Linked DNA regions of Homo sapiens: region 1 is linked to region 2. The links are contacts of gene promoters, found by promoter capture Hi-C in human tissues and cell types (Jung and others, 2019). All regions are on one chromosome and are shown on one strand. Each heading gives the region's core, a stretch centred on a gene start or on the middle of the fragment in contact. The rest is flanking DNA. Distances are from core to core; before and after follow the strand shown.

Region 1 (3,052 bases), core at 433-2,932, 54 kb before region 2:
GGCTTTTGAATTAACCCAATACAACAAGGACAAAGAAAAAGGAATTTAAAAAAATGAATAAAGCCTCCAAGAAGTTTGGGATTATGTTAAACGACCAAACCGAAGAATAATTGGTGTTCCCGAGGAAGAAGATAAATCTAAAAGTTTGGAAAACATATTTGAGGGAATAATTGAGGGAAATTTCTTGACCTTGCTAGAGATCTAGATATTCAAATACAAGAAGCTCAACGGACTCCCAGGAAATTCATTGCAAAAAGATCATCACCTAGGCACACAGTCATGAGGTTATCTAAAGTCAAGATGAAGGAAAGAATCTTAAGAGCTTTCAGGCAAAAGCATCAGGTAACCTATAAAGGAAGACCTATCAGATTAACAGGAGATTTCTCAAGAGAAACCCTACAAGCTAGAAGGGATTGGGGTCCTATCTTTGGCCTCCTTAAACAAAACAATTATCAGCCAAGAATGTTGTATACAGTGAAACTAAGCTTCATAAATAAAGGAAAGATACAGTCTTTTTCAGAAAAACAAATGCTGAGAGAATTCACCACTACTAAGCCCATACTACAAGAACTGCTAAAAGGAGCTCTAAGTCTTGAAATAAATCCTTGAAATACACCAAAATAGAACCTCCTTAAAGCATAAATCTTACAGGGCCTATAAAACAATAATAAAATGAAAACAAAACAAGGTATTCAGACAACAACTAGCATGATGAATAGAAAAGTACCTCACATCTCAATATTAACATGGAAAGTAAATGGCCTAAATGCTCCACTTAAAAGACACAGAATGGCAGAATGGATAAGAATTCACTAACCATGTATGTGCTATCTTCAAGAGACTCACCTAACAAATAAAGACTCACAAAAACTTAAAGGAGTGAAAAAAAAATATTCCATGAAAATGGACACCAAAACCAAGCAGAAGTAGCTATTCTTATATCAGAAAAAAGGAACATTAAAGCAACAACAGTTTAAAAAGACAAAAAGGGACATTATATAATGACAAAATTTGTAGTTCAACAGGAAAATATCACAATCCTAAATTTATATGCACCTAACACTGGTGCTCCCAAATTTATAAAACAATTACTACTAGACCTAAGAAATGAGATAGATGGCAACACAATAATAGTGGGGATTTCAGTACTCCACTGACAGCACTAGACAGGTCATCAAGACAGAAAGTCAACAAAGAAACAATGGACTTAAACTATACATTAGAACAGGCCGGGCACAGCGGCTCACACACCTGCAATCCCAGCACTTTGGGAGGCCAAGGAGGGTGGATCATTTGAGGTCAGGAGTTCGAGACCAGCCTGGTCAACATGGTGAAATCCTGTCTCTACTAAAGATACTAAAATTTGCTGGGCATGGTGGTGCATGCCTGTAATCCTAGCTATTCAGGAGGCTGAGACAGGAGAATTGCTTGAACATGGGAGGCGGAGTTGCAGTGAGCCAAGATCACACCACTGTACTCCAGCCTGGGTGACAGAGTGAGACTCCGACTCAAAAAAAATAAAAAAATTAAAATAAAATAAAAATAAACTATACCCTAGAGCAAATGCACTTAATAGATATTTACAGAACATTCTACCTAACAACTGCAGAATATACATTCTATTCATTAGCACATGAAACATTCTCCAAAATAGACCACATGATAGGCCACAAAACAAGTCTCAATAAATATAAGAAAATTCTACCAAGTACTCTCTCAGACCACAGTGGAATAAAAATGGAAATTATCTCTAAAAGGAACCCTAAAAACCAGCAAATATATGGAAATTAGATAACCTGCTCCTAAATGATCATTGGATCAAAAATGAAATCAAGATGGAAATTTGAAAATTCTTTGAACTGAAAGATAATAGTGACACATCCTATCAAAACCTCTGGGAAATGGCAAAGGCAGTGCTAAGAGGAAAGTTTATATTTTTAAGTGCCTACATCAAAAAGTCTAAAAGAGCACAAATAGACAATCTAAGGTCACACCTCAAGAAACTGGAGAAACAAGAACAAACCAAACCAAAACACAGCAGAAGAAAAGAAATAACAAAGATCAGAGCAGAACTAAATGAAACTGAAATAAACAAACAAAAAATACAAAAAACGAATGAAACAAAAAGCTTGTTCTTTGGAAAGATAAATAAAATTGATAGACCATTAGTGAGATTAACCAAGAAAAGAAGAGCGAGGATCCAAATAAGCTCAATTAGAAACAAAACAGGAGATATCACAACTGATACCACAGAAATAGATCATTCAAGGCTACCATGAACACCTTTATGTGTATAAACTAGAAAACCTAGAGGAGATACATAAATTCCTGGAAATACACAACCCTCCTAGATTAAGCCAGCAAGAAATAGAAACTCTGACCACACCAATAACAAGCAGCAAGACTGAAATGGTAATTTAAAAATTGCCGCACACACACACACACACACAAAGTCCAGGACCAGATGGATTCACAGCTGGTGCTGAATTCTGTCTGATGTTCAAAGAATAGTTGGTACCAATCCTATTGACACTATTCCACAAGATAAAGAGGGAATACTCCCTAAATTATTCTATGAAGCCAGTATCACCCTGATACCAAAACCAGGAAAGGACATAACAGAAAAAGAAAACTACAGGCCACTATCCCTAATGAATATAGATGCAAAAATCCTTAACAAAATACTAGTGAATTGAATCCAACAGCATATCTAAAAGATAATCCAACATGATCAAGTGGGTTTCATACCAGGGATTCAGGGATGGTTTAACATATGCAAGTCAATAAATGTGATACACCACATAAACAGAATTAAAAACAAAAATCACATTATCATCTCAATAGATGCAAAAAAAAGCATTTGACAAAACCCAGCATCCCTTTATGATTAAAACCCTCAGCAAAATTGGCATAGAAGGGACATATCTTAATGTAATAAAAGCCATTTATGACAAACCCACAGCTGACATAACACTGAATAAAGTTGAAAGCACTCCTCCCGAGAACTGGAATAAGGACGCCCACTCTCACTACTTCTAATCAACATAGTATT
Region 2 (3,000 bases), core at 199-2,698:
GTATTTACCTTCTGAAAGCTCCTTCTCTCTACCTCTGCCCACCTTTCACTGCCATCTCAGACTGGATAAAAGGAGTGATCTTTGTATTTGGCTGGTACAGTTAACCCTATCCCCATCTCATTAAACTGTTCTTCCCTGGTTTCTGCCTGATCATGAGCCCAGTTACCCTGTGTGTATGAAGAGGGAGCAGTATGGAGGAATCCTCACTTTCTGCTCTGGATACAGAAGCCATGGATGGAGGGAGGACACATTGCAGTTGTGACTGGAATTCAGCATCTCACGTCTCTTTGTGCCCTAAAGCCCAGGGACCACTCCTCTTCTCTCACTGCTTCCCTCACCCATCACATGGCAGAGGGTAGCTGGCATGCCTTTTGACAGGAGCCCAGATCTGACATATTTTCAGCATAGTGGATCTTAGGGAGTGAATGTGTAGTTCATAGAGGGGACATACCACTAGCCAACCTCATAGAACTTGCTCAGACCAGCAGGCTTGATCCGGGGCTGTAGGTCCCCCAGCAGGGACAGCAAAGGGATGCTGGATTTGTATGAAACACATGTCTTAGGTCTCTTTCCCTCTTTACGACAACATACTGCCTGTTTCTGTGGCACTGTTCACAGATCACTGACTTTACCCGCTCCCCACCCCACCTCCAGCACAAATACCCCATTTTCCACAGTCTGTGTGTCATTCTTTTCCTCTGGGCCACAGGGGAGCCTCCTTAGGGTGGCACACAGCCCTCCACTAGCTAACCAATCTCCTCTCCAGAGCCCGTCAGGAGACTCTCTTTTCAGATGAGGTATCCCTCCTCCATCTGAAGCCATATCCCCAGTGAATATGTCCTGCTTTCTTCCTCCTGTCGCTGCCACACGCATGCTCTCGACCACCAGGAAGACCTGGAGGCAGGCAGGGGCACAGGGAGGGATTTTCTGGCAAAGTCTGCACAAATATACCTGGTCTGAAAGAGGAACACTGATGCCATGGTATGGCGGGCCTCTCTGCTCCCCAGATGTGCTAGTCCCCAGAGGCTGTCAGAGCAGTCCTTTGCTGGAACTTCCTCTGCACTTGCCAGCCAAGAGTGGACCAAATGCAGCCTTTGACTCCCCAACCTCATACATCCATCAACACTCTGCAGAAGCCTACCCTAAGGGCTTGTTGCAACCCCAGCCCATACCCCTCTTCTTTCCTTCATTCTTTCCAGATTGTACTGAAGTCCATCCTAGGCAGCCGCCTCCTACTTTCTTCTCTGCTCACCGCCTTCAGGCCTTGCTCTCCACTCCTGGCTCACACACAGACGGTTGCTTACCTGGGAAATGCAGACAGCAGTGTGGGGCCTCTGCCCTGGCTTCTGTGACACGTGGGCTCTCAGCAACAGGAACCAGTTAGGTACAAATCAGCAGAGATGGTGTCTCTGTCTCTCACGCTTTGTGTCCAGTCCAGCGGCTGCAGAGAGAGCCTCTGGAGGTGGGGCCAGTGTAATACACTCAACCTTCCTGCCTGCATCCAGAGAGCAGCCTGGGAAATAGAGTGGGGCTGCCCTCTCTCACTGCCTGAACCGATCCTCTGGCTCCCTCTGCTCCTGCCTCCCCTCCCTGCCAAAGCCAGCCTTCCTCCTTCCCTCCTCTCAGTCTTCCTGCAGGTGGCCCTATGCCTCTTGTTCACTTTCACTCCTTCCTTCCACAGAGCAGTCCATCCTTCACTTTAGCCCTGGTATGCCCATGGGCCACATGTCACTTGTGAGCTTCCTGGGTAGCATGCTTTTTCCCTCCTGGAAGGCAGAACAGAGTATTTGGCCTATATGCCCACCTCCCTATTCTAGTACCCACCTTTTGCAGGACTGTGAGTTGCAGAACTGTGAGGGGTTGGGATTCCCAGAATTCTTTGTAGCAGCCCATTCATTGGCTCAAAGATGCCCACAGCCTTTTAACTGGGAGTAGGGGTGCAGGGAGATGGTTTTCTGTCTTATGCATACAGATGCCAGGCCTGTCTGGGGTCTCTTTCCACTTTCAGCATTGATTCCCATGCAGGTTCATTTTGAAGAGAAGGATTGGCCCAAGGTAGAAGACTCAGTACATTCAGAATTTTTACCCACTCAAGTCTAATGTGCATTTATTAGGATGAACATTCAGGGCATTAAAATAGGTGATGGAAGTGTGGTTCCTGTGATGTCACTAGGTGGTCACAAAGTATACTGATTGACAGCACGGTCTGGGTCTGGGTTTGAATCTTACTACTTACTAGCTGTGTGATCTTGGGCAAGTTATTTAACCTCTGTGTGCCTTAGTGTCTCATCTGCAAAACAGGGACCAGGATACTATTGCCATCATGGAAGTTTGGGGAGTATTAAATGAGATAATGCATGTAAGGAGCTTAGTTCGGTGTTTGGAACATAGCAAGTACCCAAAAACGTTAGCTGCTTTCATTGTTATTATTGACGATTTTTAAAAATTTTAAGTTCCGGGATACATGTGCAGGATATGCAGGTTTGTTACATAGGTAAACATGTGCCATGCTGGTTTGCTGCACCTATCAACCCTTCCTTCACCTAGGTATTAAGCCCGGCATGCATTAGCTATTTTTCCTGATGCTCTCTCCACCCCGCACTCCCCCAACTGGCCCCAATATGTGTTGTTCCCCTCCCTGTGTCCATGTGTTCTCACTGTTCAGCTCCCATTTATAAGTGAGAACATGCGGTGTTTGGTTTTCTGTTCCTTTGCCAGTTTGCTGAGGATAATGCCTCCAGCTCCATCCCTGTCCCTGCAAAGGATATGATCCTGTTCCTTTTTATGGCTGCATGGTATTCCATGGTGTATATATACCACATTTTCTTTATCCAGTCTATCATTGATGGGCATTTGGGTTGATTCCAAGTCTGCTATTGTGAATAGTGCGGCATTGAACATATGCATGCATGTATCTTTATAATAGAATTATTTATATTCCTTTGGGTATATTCCCAGTAATGGGATTGTGGATCAAATGGTATTTCTGGTTCTAAATCT

What was found. The method cuts DNA at HindIII sites, captures the fragments that hold promoters and counts their contacts. A contact is called where the count stands out against the background at its distance.
Region 1: a fragment that was not itself captured here is called in contact with the fragment with the promoter of ZNF648 in region 2 in 1 of the 25 tissues and cell types used here (small bowel).

Annotation. Positions count from the first base shown.
Region 1 is chr1:182,006,302-182,009,353 of GRCh38, forward strand. No RefSeq gene overlaps it. Among named protein-coding and RNA genes, the nearest start is that of ZNF648, 54 kb to the right of the region's middle. The HindIII fragment of the contact is 4,816 bases long and covers 1-3,052 here.
Region 2 is chr1:182,060,264-182,063,263 of GRCh38, forward strand. ZNF648 (zinc finger protein 648) reads right to left here and starts at 1,449. Exons shown (of 2, transcript NM_001009992.1): 1 at 1,305-1,449. The HindIII fragment of the contact is 24,066 bases long and covers 1-3,000 here.